Linked DNA regions of Homo sapiens: all the other regions are linked to region 2. Evidence: promoter capture Hi-C in human tissues and cell types (Jung and others, 2019). All regions are on one chromosome and are shown on one strand. The core of a region is centred on a gene start or on the middle of the fragment in contact, and the rest is flanking DNA. Distances in the headings are between cores, read along the strand shown. Region 1 overlaps HNRNPL (heterogeneous nuclear ribonucleoprotein L). Region 2 holds the start of IFNL1 (interferon lambda 1). Region 3 holds the start of LGALS7B (galectin 7B). Region 4 holds the start of MRPS12 (mitochondrial ribosomal protein S12). Region 5 has its middle 7.3 kb from the start of FBXO17.

Evidence for each region. The method cuts DNA at HindIII sites, captures the fragments that hold promoters and counts their contacts. A contact is called where the count stands out against the background at its distance.
Region 1: a contact is called between a fragment that was not itself captured here and the fragment with the promoter of IFNL1 in region 2, in 1 of the 25 tissues and cell types used here (thymus).
Region 3: the fragment with the promoter of LGALS7B here is called in contact with the fragment with the promoter of IFNL1 in region 2 in 2 of the 25 tissues and cell types used here (heart left ventricle and mesenchymal stem cells).
Region 4: a contact is called between the fragment with the promoter of MRPS12 here and the fragment with the promoter of IFNL1 in region 2, in 2 of the 25 tissues and cell types used here (heart left ventricle and mesenchymal stem cells).
Region 5: a contact is called between a fragment that was not itself captured here and the fragment with the promoter of IFNL1 in region 2, in 2 of the 25 tissues and cell types used here (IMR-90 fibroblasts and mesenchymal stem cells).

The regions. Positions count from the first base shown.
Region 1 is chr19:38,842,224-38,844,923 of GRCh38, reverse strand. HNRNPL (heterogeneous nuclear ribonucleoprotein L) reads left to right here. Exons shown (of 13, transcript NM_001533.3): 5 at 820-916; 6 at 1,010-1,082. Among named protein-coding and RNA genes, the nearest start is that of HNRNPL, 6.4 kb to the left of the region's middle. RefSeq lists enhancers at 1,513-2,013, 2,096-2,175. The HindIII fragment of the contact is 4,246 bases long and covers 1-2,700 here.
Region 2 is chr19:39,294,967-39,297,666 of GRCh38, reverse strand. It overlaps IFNL1 (interferon lambda 1), which reads right to left and starts at 1,260. Exons shown (of 5, transcript NM_172140.2): 1 at 1,075-1,260; 2 at 785-862. The coding sequence starts at 1,245. The HindIII fragment of the contact is 11,779 bases long and covers 1-2,363 here.
Region 3 is chr19:38,787,772-38,790,471 of GRCh38, reverse strand. LGALS7B (galectin 7B) reads right to left here and starts at 1,272. Exons shown (of 4, transcript NM_001042507.4): 1 at 1,240-1,272; 2 at 768-856. The coding sequence starts at 1,245. The HindIII fragment of the contact is 15,298 bases long and covers 1-2,700 here.
Region 4 is chr19:38,929,632-38,932,331 of GRCh38, reverse strand. MRPS12 (mitochondrial ribosomal protein S12) reads right to left here and starts at 1,388. Exons shown (of 3, transcript NM_033362.4): 1 at 1,334-1,388; 2 at 989-1,056. The coding sequence starts at 1,037. SARS2 (seryl-tRNA synthetase 2, mitochondrial) reads left to right here and starts at 1,569. Exons shown (of 16, transcript NM_017827.4): 1 at 1,569-1,862. The coding sequence starts at 1,596. RefSeq lists an enhancer at 1,485-1,944. The HindIII fragment of the contact is 13,053 bases long and covers 1-2,700 here.
Region 5 is chr19:38,981,677-38,984,376 of GRCh38, reverse strand. No RefSeq gene overlaps it. Among named protein-coding and RNA genes, the nearest start is that of FBXO17, 7.3 kb to the right of the region's middle. The HindIII fragment of the contact is 8,720 bases long and covers 1-2,700 here.

The DNA of each region.
Region 1 (2,700 bases), core at 117-2,616, 450 kb after region 2:
CAGCCTAGCCAACGTGGTGAAACCCTGTCGCTAATAATACAAAAAATAGCCAGGCATGGTGGTGAACGCCTGTAATCCCAGCTACTCTGGAGGCTGAGGCAGGAGAATCGCTTGAGCCTGGGAGGCGGAGATTGCAGTGAGCCGAGACTGTGCCACTGTATTCCATCCTGGGCAACACAGCGAGACTCCATATCCAAAAAAAAAAAAAAAAGGTGGGGCATGTGTGAAGGTTGCTGAGGAGGTGATGTCCTATGAGCAAATAGGAGCTTATACTCAAGGTGGAGGAAACAGCCTCTGCAAAGGTTGTAAAGTCAGAAGGAGCTTGTGTTGGATGGAGAAATTGAAAGACCTGAGGATTGCAAAGTGGCTGGCAAGCAGACGGGTTTGGAATAGACATTGGAAGAAGCTTTTAGGGCATCCTAGACAGCGTTGCGATGCTTGGGGCAGGGGCAGGAAAAAGCCACTGATGGACTTTCAGGGCAGAGCTGTAATCGAGTTGATGTTTCAGATTTAGTCGAAGGGTGTGAGAGGGCTGAGACGGAGAAAGTGGTGTGGCAGAAGAGGTTGCTGGTGGCCATGGGTCGGGGTGCAGATTATGAGAGAACTCTGGCCAGTGACTGCTCACCCGGGGCAGCGTTGAGTCCATCAACACCGTTTTGGTCTCTTAACCTGAGGCTAGTGGCTGGGCAGTGAGCTAATCCCAAAGCTTCCGTCTGTACCACAGTCTTGGGGTGCTACCTTGTCCTTATCACACTCTGGGGTAACTTGAAGCCCTTCTCAAAGATCTCCTGTGATGGGACTTTCCTTAACTTGACTCACATTTGACTCAGTTCAAAGTGCCCAGCGGGCCAAGGCCTCTCTCAATGGGGCTGATATCTATTCTGGCTGTTGCACTCTGAAGATCGAATACGCAAAGGTACATCTGGGAGGTGACTGACTGCCCCTTGTCAGCTTCCAGGTGAGCTGGGGCATGGCTGACCTCAAGTCTTGTCTTGTCCTGTCCTTGCAGCCTACACGCTTGAATGTGTTCAAGAATGATCAGGATACTTGGGACTACACAAACCCCAATCTCAGTGGACAAGGTAATCTTGACGACCACTTTGTTCTAAACATACCCGCCTTGCTTTCACTCGACTAGTGCACTTAATAGGCCTGGGCTCAGGGTTATGTAATGCCATTGGGCCCCCCATGGACATGGGAGGGCCTTGGGGTCAGCACTTGGACACCCTAGTGGGATGGGGGAGTGAGAGGCCTCCATGGGTCTTCACTGCTGCTTGGGGCCCTCCGATGCTGCTCAGGATACAGAGGCAAGGCAGAAGCCTGGATGGGCGGGGAGCAGGGCCTCACTGAGGATGAGGCGTGGGGGCGGCCTTAGAAACCAGCAGTGGCTCCTTTGAGAGTCTGGTGAGGGTCACTCACTCCATTCTTGCTGGACCAGGAATTGTCCTCTTGTTCTGCGCTGTTGAGAGGGTCTGATTTGGGGGAGTGACAGTGTTGGGGGGCGATGAGGTCTCCTGGGCTCTTGCAGTGAGCCTTGTGAGCAAGCTGACCCTGTGGAGGTGAGACACTCTGGATTGGACCAGGGCGGACATGCCTCACATCATTTGTAGAGGGGACGCAACATCTCTGCAGGTGGCCCAAATGGACAACTCCCTTCCTAGTGTCTGTCAAGAATGGTTTGCCTTTGGTAGCAGGGAGAGGTGGAGGATTGCCTATGAGAAACAGCGGCAGCCCCCCAACAAGACCATCCATCTCGGTGTCTGTCTTGGTCTGATACGTCGGACCAGGCCATGGGCTGAGGGAGGAGGCTCGATGCTGACATCGCACAGGCCCTGAGAGGCCAGAGCCCCCCATTCCTAGGCAGGCCTGTCTTGCTCGCCCTTGCATCTGGGAAGCAGTGGGCAGGGTGGGCTAGACTCTTCCCCAGGATCCTCACAGTGGGCCCTGTGGGCCTGGCTGCTCCCTCCAAAGGTCAGAGGCAAATTGGTGACCAAGTGAATGTACCAGAGCGGGCAATGGCATTACATGACTGCTAACAGAAACATGGCAACAACCATTTCTTCTCCAAGGAACATAAATAGAAGATGTGCAGACCGGCAGGGGCTAGTGGCAGGGGGCTGGCTGTGCATTGGTTTTGATGCCTCTCAGCTTTGGCAGCCCCAAGGCTGGGGCCCAAAAAAAAACGAGGGCTGATGAGGTGACCTGGAGTGAGGGCGGTGCTTCGCCACCCCTCAGGAACCATACTTCAGCGGCTCTGCCTCTGCACATTGCTCACCAACACACAGGGTAGAAAACCACTAGCTCTTCCTGGAGAGAACAGAACATGCAGCCTCCACCACGTCCCCAGAAACAGCCGCAGACTTGAGCTCACTACATCAAGAACACCACACCGCGCTCCAAGGAACAGCTACAAGCACAGAGACAGAGGCATACAGAGACAAAGAGAGAAAGAGACGCAACATGGCAGCAGACACTGCTTTTTTTATTAAACATTAAAAAAAAGGTCAAAATCCAAGCAAACTTGAACCCGAGAATGTACACAGAAGTAGGAAACACAGAGAACAGAGCTGTCCCAGCCAGCCAGCGAGCGATGCTCTTTTCGGAGAACGTTTCATAGACGGAAGTAGATTCCATGGGCCTCCAAGACAATAGGATCCTCTCTCCATTCCTCGCCATATGGGTTTTGTTTTTTAAGTCATT
Region 2 (2,700 bases), core at 11-2,510:
GGGCACAGTAAGAGAGGGACAGTTGCATGCACAGAGAAGAAGGGTAGGGCTGGGTGTGGTGGCTCACGCCTGTAATCCCAGCACTTTGGGAGGCCGAGGCGGGTGGATCACCTGAGGTCAGGATTTCGAGACCAAGCCTGGCCAACATAGTGAAACCCCGTCTCTGCTAAAAATACAAAAATTAGCTGGGCATCATGGCACATGCCTGTAATCCCAGCTACTCGGGAGGCTGAGGCAGGATAATTGCTTGAACCCGGGAGGCAGAGGTTGCAGTGAACCGAGATCATGCCACTGCACTCCAGCCTGGGCCATAGAGCAAGACTCTGTCTCAAAAAAAAAAAAAAAAAAAAAAAAAAGAGAAGGGTGGATGAGGGGGGAGCATGAGCTGGATGAATGTCAGTGAGAGATAATGAGGGACAGGTGACAGAGGCAGGTGAGAGGGAGAGGGGGTCAGTGTTGGGAACAGACAGGGAGAAGTGGAGCAGGACGAAAGGCACAGGTGGGCGACAGACTGGAGACATTTGGGAGAGAAATGAAGAGTGAGAGTGGAAGTGACAGGGACAGGTGAGCGAGCTAGGGAAGTGGGGCCGATGGGAGATGATAAAAGGGACCCAGGGGAAGGACAGAGTCAAGAGAGCAGTTTTGAAGTGGCAGGGGCACAGGACAGGTGAGGAGAGGTCCAAGAGAGTGAAGGACAAGGGAAACAAAGAAGGCTAAGGGGCCACTTAAGAAGAGGGGGGAGAGGGTCAAGGGAAGGGTGAAGGGGGCCTGACTTTCAGCTCACCTGGAGAAGCCTCAGGTCCCAATTCCCGGGGAAGACAGGAGAGCTGCAACTCCAGTTTTTCAGCTTGAGTGACTCTTCCTAGAGAGCAAGGGCAGGGGTTAGCCCACAGCAGGATGGCTGGAAGCTAGCTCATAGCAGCAAGGATGAAGTTGGCCTGACAGCATGGGTTTAACCCAGTGCAGAAAGGATAGAGGTTTGCCATAGTTGGAAGGCTAGAGGCTAGCCCACAGTAGAAGGGCAGTAATTGGGACACCCGTAGAAGTGGTTCATCCACAGCAACAGGAACTCACCAAGGCGTCCCTGGCCTTCTTGAAGCTCGCTAGCTCCTGTGGTGACAGAGATTTGAACCTGCCAATGTGGCAGCCCTTCCCAGTTGTGGTGGGCTTGGAAGTGGGGACAGGGCCTGCCACGGCCAAGCCTAGCACCAAAGTCACCAGCACCACGGTCCAAGCTGCAGCCATGGCTAAATCGCAACTGCTTCCCCAGCGGCATGGCTCTGCTTTTTAGCCACGCAAAATGGGCAATCCAAGATGATGTGTGTAAAGTGAAAAGGTAATTGGAAATGAGAATTTCCACTTTGACTTAAGAGGCATGAGTGGGCGGGGCCCGTCTGGGAGCCTGATGAGGGAACAGGTGTGGGCAGGGCCAAGTGAGCTGGGAGCTGCATCAAGAAGGAAAGAGAAACTGAAATCCTTAGAACTCCCTGGGCAGCTTTCAGCCAACTGGCCTCAGGGAGTCCCTGACGGAGGCTGAGATTAGGGATAAGGCTACCTGAGTGGCAGAGAGGAAGCTTCTTTTTTATTCTAAATTAGCCAGGTGTGGTGGCATGCGCCTGTGGTCTCAGCTACTCAGGAGGCCGAGGCATGAGAATCACTTGAACCCGGGAGGCGGAGGTTGCAGTGAGCCAAGATCGTGCCACTGCACTCCAGCCTGGGTGATGGAGTGAGATCCTGTTTCAAAAAAAAAAAAGCTTGTTTTTTATTTTATTGTTATTATTATTTTTTGAGACGTAGTTTTGCTCTTGTTGCCCAGGCTGGAGTGCAATGGTGCAATCTTGGCTCACTGCAACTTCTGCCTCCCGAGTTGAAGCGATTCTCCTGCCTCAGCCTCCTAAGTAGTTGGGATTACAGGTGCATGCCATCACGCCTGGCTAGTTTTTGTATTTTTAGTAGAGACTGGGTTTTACTATGTTGGTCACGCTGGCTTCGAACTCCTGACTTCAGATGATCTGCCTGCCTTGGCCTCCCAAAGTGCTGGGATTACAGGCGTGAGCCACCACCTTACTTTATTATTTATTTATTTATTTTTGTAGAGATAGGGGTCTCACTATGTTGCCCAGGCCAGTCTTGAACTCCTGGCCTTAAGCCATCCTCCTGCTTCAGCCTCGCAAAGTGCTAGTATTAAAGGCATGAGCCACTGCTCCTGGCCAAGAAGGAGCTTCTGCCATTGGTTTAAGAATGTCCCATTAACTAATTTCAGTTCATGCTCCTAATGTTTCTCTGAGTAGTTATTTTTATAATTGTGATGGTTAATTTTAGGTGTCACCTTGACTGGTTAAGTTTATCAGATAGCTGGTGATGCGTTAATTCTGGGTATGACTCTGGGGTGTTTCCAGAAGAGATTGGCATTTGAATCAATGGACTGAGTAAGGAAGACCCGTTGTTACCCAATGTGGTGGGCACCATCCAATTGGCCGAGGGCCTGAATAGAACAAAAAGGCAGAGGAAAGGAGAATTTGCTCTCTCTTATGAGCTGGGACACCCTGCACCTGCCCTTAAACATCAGAACTCCAGGCTCTTTGGTCTTTGAATGCTGGGATGTGCAGCTGGGCATGGTGGCTCACGCCTGTAATCCCAGCAGTTTGGGAGGCTGAGGCAGGTGAATCACTTGAGGTCAGGAGTTCGAGACCAGCCTGG
Region 3 (2,700 bases), core at 23-2,522, 510 kb after region 2:
GCGAGACCCCACCTTACAAAAAAACGAAAGAACAAACAAAACATAAACCGCCCAGACCAAAGTGAAGGTCTTATGGGCTGGCACTCCCCATTCCCAGAGTACCCCCAAATTAACAGGGACCTGAAGACAGGCACACACCGCAGAAGGAGAGGTGGGCGACTAATGACCAGGGAGCTTAGATTCCCAAGGCAGCCAAAATATCATGAGGCCCTTGGCAGAAACCTACCCAGACCAAACTCACTACGCTTAGGGCAGGGTGCCCTCATTTCCAAAGAGCCTGGGAGCTGCCCAGGAGGTCTGGGTGATAGCCAGGGTGCTCCTGATGCTCAGGGAACCCTCAGCTTCTACAGGACAAAGAATAATACCAGGAACCCCAGTATTTCCAGGGTACCTCAGAATCCAGAAGGCCCGAAGTTCCTTAGCCAGGAAGTCAAAGGATGGCTTGGCAAGGACTCCCAGGGTCCAGGGTGTCTCCAGGACTTGGAGTATTTCCAGAGTTCCCTGGGACTCAGACATGGAAGTCATAGGACTATATCTAGGAACCCTGAGATTACCCAGGGACCTCAAATGCTTAGGGAAACTTAGGGACCCCAGCCACAAAGGCACGGGGGCAAATACGAATACATCAGATTTGAGGTCAGAAATGGCCTCGGACTCCTAGCCTGGTGGATACAGGTGGCCTCGGGCCCCTACTTCTGGACTGCAAAAATTGGGAGTCAGCTGATCCTGAGACCTGTACCCTTTACCCCTAGGGCCTGGGGCCTCACCTGCTGGCATTGGGAGGAACCAAGCCGCGAATTCTCAGCACCGTGCCAGGGCGGATGCCCTCGGGCAGTGAGGACTTGTGGGGGACGTTCTGCAAGAGTGGGGTGCAGGGGCCACTGTGAGCCGGTGAGACCGAAGGAGGGAGGCAGAAGGTGGGTCACCCCTCAGAGGAGCCGACCAGGGCTGAGACTGGCAGAAATCAGTGGAAGAGGAAAGGGTGGCGGAGAGGCAGGAAAGAGACCAGAAACAGACAGGGAAACAGATGGGGAGAGCAACAAAGACAAACAGAAAGATCCTCAAAGAGGGCCCCAGAGGAAGCCACAAAGAGGTAGAGGGGACAGTCGGGATGGGGGTTACCCGGAGGCCACAGCCCAGGCCAGTCCGTGGCACACTCACTGCCCACTTGCTCCTTTGAAAGAGGAGCCCCCAGCCCCCTCCCTGCTTGGCCCCGCCCCGGGCCCCTGGAGCACTCACGGACATGGCTGGGACCGGGTTGGGCAGCCGTGGTGGTGGGGCCTGCTGGGGACCTTAAATAAAAGCAGGGCGGGGCTGGCCCTGATGACTCACCCCACCCCTTCCCACCCACCACCCACACCTGGCACGGACCCTGGCCCTGGGGCAAGCCTGGCGAAGTGGGAGTGGCGCCTCTTCTTGGGGGCCCTGATCCCCCCATCACCCAGAGCCCGGGTGCACTGCCCCTCTCCTAGGAGCTGATAATAAGAGCCACCGCCCCTCCACCCCTGTCTTCCCACTGCCTGGCACACAGGAGAGTCTCTCATGCTCATTTTATCCACAGACATGTTGGGTCCTGAGAAGCCAAGCCCAGCGGGAACTCTAGACCCTTCTCTCCAGCTGAGAACCTCCTGCCTAGACTGGAAATGTCTGCGCTGAAATCCCTGCTTCTAAGTCTCCAGTGGAACAGCAGCCACAACAACGACGATAGTGCCAGACAGGGGGACTTCACAGGGTCGGAGGGCGGCCTGGTTGGCTCAGTGCTGCACCCCTGGGTCCTGGAGTGTGCCGGGTTCATGGGAAGTCCTCAGTCAGGAGGGGTGAAAGGAGGGGATCCACTAGGACTACGCTTGTCATTTCCCAGGCCCTTGGGCTGCCCAGGATATGCAGGAAATCACTGATTGGGACCCCACCATTCCAACAGAGAGAAGCATGGGTCACCCCCATTGTACAGAGAAGGAGGCTGAGGCTGGGATGGGAAGTGATTTTCCACAAGCCGGGCAGGACCCATTGCCCCAACCTCTGCCTTTCCTCACCTCTGGGCGTGCCTCTCCTGTGGGTTCTGTCTCTGGGGCTGGCTGTCTGGCTCTGTTTGTCTCTGTCTATAACTGTCTACCGCGTATTCCTGTCCCACTTCTCTCCTTCAAGTCTCTCTTGTTCCTCCTTCCAGGACTGTTACCATCTTCCCACCAATTTTGCAGGTCAGGATGAGGTGGGTTTTAGGGTGGTGGGTGGCCTAGCATTCCATCACCACCTAGATCAAAAGCAGAGCAAGGTGGGGACCCTCCCGCCAGCCCCAATATAGCCCGCTTGGGCCCAAGACTCTAGAAGAGAATCCAGGGTTGGGGAAGTAGACTGGGGGAGGCGGGGGGGGGGGGGGGGGCGGGCAGGACTGAAATCTGTTTCTGAAAGGCAGGGATGGTGTGGGAGCTGAACAGAAACCACTCCTGGCTGGGCATGGTAGCTCACGCCTGTAATCCCAGCACTTTGGGAGGCCAAGGTAGGTGGATCACTTGAGGTCAGGAGTTCAAGACCAGCCTGGCCAACATGGTGAAACCCCTTCTCTATAGAAAATACAAAAAATTGGCCAGGTGTGGTGGTGGACACCTGTAATCCCAGCTACCTGGGAGGCTGAGGCAGGAGAATTGCTTGAGCTGGGGAGGCGGACGTTGTAGTGAGCCGAGATCACACCACTGCACTGCA
Region 4 (2,700 bases), core at 139-2,638, 370 kb after region 2:
TGGAGAGGGCCGAAAGGGGTTATTATCCCAGAGAACAGATCTTAGAGTAGTAGCAACTCAATTTTGGTGTTTTAGGCATTGTTTAAAGCACTTTACAAAGATGCATTTGTTCACATCTAATGTTATCTACAGACAAAAGTAACTCTTTATTCTTCAAGGAAGCATTACCTTTTTTTTTTTTTTCTTTTTTTTTTTTGAGACAAAGTCTCACTCTGTCGCCCAGGCTGGAGTGCAGTACCTCAATCTTGGCCCACTGCAACCTCTGCCTCCTGGGTTCAAGCAATTCTCCTGTCTCAGCCTCCTGAGCAGCTGGGACTACAGGCACCCACCACCACGCTCGGCTAATCTTCGTATTTTTAAGTAGAGACGGGGTTTCACCATGTTGGTCAGGCTGGTCTCGAACTCCTGACCTCGGCCTCTCAAAGTGCTGGGATTACAGGCGTGAGCCACCACGGCTGGCCAGGAAGCATTATTTTTAATGCTGTTTAAAATAATAGTAGGCTCAGTGGCTCATGCATGTAATCCTAGCACTTTTGGAGGCTGTGGAGGGTCACTTGAGCTCAGGAGTTAAGGCCAGACTGGGCGACACAGGGAGACCTCCCTCTCTACAAAGAATCAAAAAGTTAGCTGGTTGTGGTTCTGCAGGCCTGTGGTCCCAGCTACTTGGGAGGCTGAGGCGGGAGGATCACTTGAGCCCAGGAGGTCGAGACTGCAGTGAGCTGTGATCACACCGCTGCACTTCAGCCTGGGCGACAGAGGGAGATCTTAAATAAATAAATAATAAAACTGACCCAAACGCCGCTTGACACGCAGTAGCCCTCCATGCAGCTGCTTCCCACCTCTTGCTCTAGCAGCCCTAGCTCTGCCAAAACCCCACCGTGTTTTTCCACCCCCGTTTCCCTCGGGGCTCCGACGGAGGCACACAAGTCCAAGAGCGAATAACCCTCCCCCTCTAGCCTCGTCCCTGAAGCCCAAGTCCCCCACTTACCACAAGTTAGGGACGTGTTGAGGCCATGGAGAAGGCCAGACCAGGACATCCTGCCACCTGGGCCGTCCCTGTGGTAGGGGATAAGAGACTCAGAAAGGAGGAAAAAGTGACCGATCCGCAAATGCTCCCCGATCCGCTCTCAGGACTTTCTGGCTTAAATCAAAGGAAATACCTCTATAGGTCTAACCACAGGCCCTCATGCTGCTAACAGAAAGTCCCTCCGTAAATTTAGCCTCGCTCTGAGTGGGTTCCCGAGGGCCCAACCACTCTCGCCCGCACGCAGGAAGAACTGGGAAACTGGGGAGATGGCCTGGTAGATTTGGAGGACCCCAGGATTCCACCGACCTCACAGGACCTAAAGGTGAGGTCGCGGACACGCTGAATCCAGCTTCTAGCCTCTTCCGGGCGCTATCCGTGCAGGGATTGGCTGGTTCTGCCTCGCGTCACTGAAGAGGCGGGACACAGACGACGATTGGGCGACGAAGGACTCTATCGCGGTCAACTTTCCTCAGGATCTGATTGGCTCGTCACGGTCAGGTTCGCTGCCTTGCAATTGGTCTAAACGCGGAGTGGGCGGGACGAAGTGCCGCCTTGTTCCCGGTCCAAGATGGCTGCGTCCATGGCGCGGCGCTTGTGGCCTTTGCTGACTCGTCGGGGGTTCCGGCCCCGGGGAGGCTGCATCTCCAACGATAGTCCAAGGAGAAGTTTCACTACAGAGAAACGAAACCGGAACCTCCTGTACGAGTATGCGCGCGAGGGCTACAGCGCACTCCCTCAGCTGGACATAGAGCGGTTCTGCGCATGCCCAGAAGAGGCCGCACACGCCCTGGAGCTCCGCAAGGGGGAGCTGCGCTCGGCGGACCTGCCCGCGATCGTGAGTGCGCCTGCGCCGGCCGGGGGGCGCAGACGTTTGCTTTACGGAAGAATTGGGTTTGCAAGATGCCCTCCGGCAGGGGGCGAACCTGTAGTAGGAATTTTAGTTATTTCCCAAGTTAGCCAACGTCTTGTGCATGGCACCCACTTATGTGCCAGTTGTCCAGTGAGTGCTGAGGCCCTACTATGTGCCAAGAATGCCTACTGTGTCCTGGACACCCATTATGCGCTTGTTTCATACTGCTCGCTGGGTACCTCCTGTCCTTTAGGAACTTGCTATGTGACATTGCCCTCCGTGCTGCAACCTCATGCCAGCCTTTCCCTAAGACCACAAAGGAAAATGGGGAGCCAAGTGTGAATCGGACGGGGTCAGGGCTGGGGTGTGGTGGAGCTCTTGCGTTTAGAGAGAGAGGTAGGGAGAGTTGTGCACCTCCGCCACACATAGCAGGCAGTTAAATAGAGTTAATGAATGAATGAATGAATCCATTAATGAATGGTTCTATTAAACTGATACTTAAGGTGCAACTGCTATATTCCGGTGTTCTAGATGTTGCAAATATGCGGTGAATAATAATAAAATTGCTAGCACTTATAAAAGGGAATTAGGACCGGGTTCACAATATCTCTGTGTTGAGGTGCTAACGATAGTGGGGTCCCCACGTCTTCCCATTCCTCTCTTGGACTCCCCTCCCAGCCTGTTTGAAGTGCTTTATTCACTTTAACCTCGTTTAATTTTCACAGCAACTCTATGAAGTAGGTGCCATTATTTCTCCCATTTTATCAGAGGGGAAACTAAGGCTTCGAGAAGCTAATTCACTTGCGCTAGGTCATGCAACTGG
Region 5 (2,700 bases), core at 156-2,655, 310 kb after region 2:
TTTGTTTAAAATATTTTTTAACACCACAGCTTCTTTCACATATTAATTTACTCATTCATTCCACAAATATATATATATATATATAATTTCTTTTTTTGAGACAGAGTCTTGCTCTGTCACCCAGGCCAGAGTGCAATGGTGCGATCTTGGTTCACCGCAACCTCCACCTCCCAGGTTCAAGTGATTCCCCTGCCTCAGCCTCCCAAGTAGCTGGGATTACAGACATGTACCACCATGCCTGGATAACTTTTTGTATTTTTATATTTCTTTATTTATTTTTTTTTCTGAGATGGAGTCTTGCTCTGTCACCCATGCTGGAGTGCAGTGGCACTCTCTCTGCTCACTGCAACCGTTACCTCGATTCTCCTATCTCAGTCCCCCAGGTAGCTGGGATTACAGGCACCCGCTACCACGCCTGGCTAATTTTTTGTATTTTTAATAGAAATGGAGTTTCATCATGTTGGCCAGGCTGGTCTCAAACTCCTGACCTCAGGTGATCTACCCACCTAGGCCTCCCAAAGTGTTGGGATTACAGGCGTGAGCCACTGCACCCGGCCTAGGCTTCTCTGTTTCTTAGCGCTATTGTCTCTACTTGTTTCTTCAGGGTAGCAAAGGTCCCTATTCCAGAGAGTTGCTGGAAGAATTAGATGTGATACTGTACCTAGATCTCTTAGCCCAGAACCTGGCACTTAAGATTTTATTTTATTTTTATTTTTTTTCTTTTTTATTTATTTATTTTGGCACTTAATATTTTAGAACTAATGATTATAAAATGTGATTAGATAACAACTACTAGAATGATGACCACTATTATTATAAAAGAACTATGGTCCGAGCCAGACATGGTGGTTCATGCCTGTAATCACAGCACCTTGGGAGGCCGAGGTGGGAGGATCACTTGAGGTCAGGAGTTCAAGACCAGCCTGGGCAACATAGCAAGACGACAGGCGTGGTTGCTGATGCCTGTATTCCCAGCACTTTGGGAGGCCGAGGATTACTTGAGGTCAGGAGACCAGCCTGGCCAACACCAGTGAAACCCCATCTCTACTAAAAATACAAAAAAATTAGCTGGGTGTGGTGGTACATGGCTGTAGTCCCAGCTACTAGGGAGGCTGAGGCAAGAAAATTGCTTGAACCTGGGAGATGGAGGTTGCAGTGAGCCAAGATCATGCCATTGCACTCCAGCCTGAGCAACAGATCAAGACTCCATCTCAAAAAAAAAAAAAAAAAAAAAAAAAAAAAAGAGCCCAGGCATGGTAGCTCACGCCTATAATCCCAGCATTTTGGGAGGCCAAGGCAGGTGGATCACATGAGGTCAGGAGTTTGAGACCAGCCTGGCCAACATAGTAAAACCCCATCTCTACTAAAAATACAAAAATTAGCCAGGCGTGGCAGAGTGCACCTATAATCCCAGCTACTTGGGAGGCTGAGGCAGGAGAATTGCTGGAACCCAGGAGGTGGAGATTGCAATGAGCCAAGATCGCACCACTGCACTCCACCCTGGGTAACAGAGTGAGACTGTGTCTCAAAAAAAATTTAAATAAATAACTATGGTGTATGGTAGACTGAATAATCCCCCCTTCTGCCAAAATTATCCAGGTCCTAACCTCTGGAATTTGTGAATGTTTCCTTATATGGCAAAAATAACTTTGCAGATATAATGACGTTAAGGTGGGTGGGGGGATCTTTGTTTTTTAGAGACGAGGTCTCCCTACGTTGCCCAGGCTGGTCTCGAATTCCTAAGCTAAAGTTATCCTCCTGCCCCAGCTTCCCAAACTGCTGAAATTACAGGTGTGAGCCACCACACCTGGCCGAAGTTATAGGTTTTGAGACAAGAAGATTATCCTGGAGTATCTAGGTGGGAGGCAACCCAGACCCCCACACGGCCTCCTGTGACACCCTTGCAGACAGTAGTCTCTCCAGGTGGCATGTGGCTTGAGAATTTTTTTGGAGCTTACTCTATGAGTCTGTGCCTGTCTAGGTATTGTGGCTCACGCCTGTAATCCCAGCACTTTGGGAAGCTGAGGCGGAAGGATTGCTTGAGCCCAGGAGACCAGCCCTGGGAACATGGTGATACCCTATCTTTACCCCAAAAAAAAAAAAAAAAGCCAGGTGTGGTGGTGCACACCTGTAGTCCCAGCTACTTGGGAGGTTGAGGTGGGAGGATCACTTGAACCCAGGAGGTCGAGGCTGTCATGAGCCATGATCATGCCACTGCACTCTAGCCTGGGCAACAGAGCAAGACCTTGTCTCAAAACAAAACAAAAAAAAGTGTGTGTGTGTGTGTGTGTGTGTGTGTGTGTGTGCCTTCAGTTCTGTGTGTGTGTGTACCTGTCTCTATCCCTACCAGGGGTTGTGTCTCTATGTCTCTATTTATATCTAAATGGATATTTTTTGTGCCCTACATTTTCCAAGAGGATTCCTTGCAAGTTTCCTTTTTTGTTCAGAAGATCTTCCTGGCCGGGCACGGTGGTTCACACCTGTAATCCCAACACTTTGGGAGGCTGAGGCAGGTGGATCACATGGTCAGGAGTTTGAGACCAGCCTGGCCAATATGGTGAAACTCCATCTCTACTAATAATACAAAAATTAGCCAGGCATGGTGGTGGGCGCCTGTAATCCCAGCTACTCAGAAGGCTGAGGCAGGAGAATTGCTTGAACTCGGGAGGCGGAAGTTGCAGTGAGCCGAGATGGCACCAC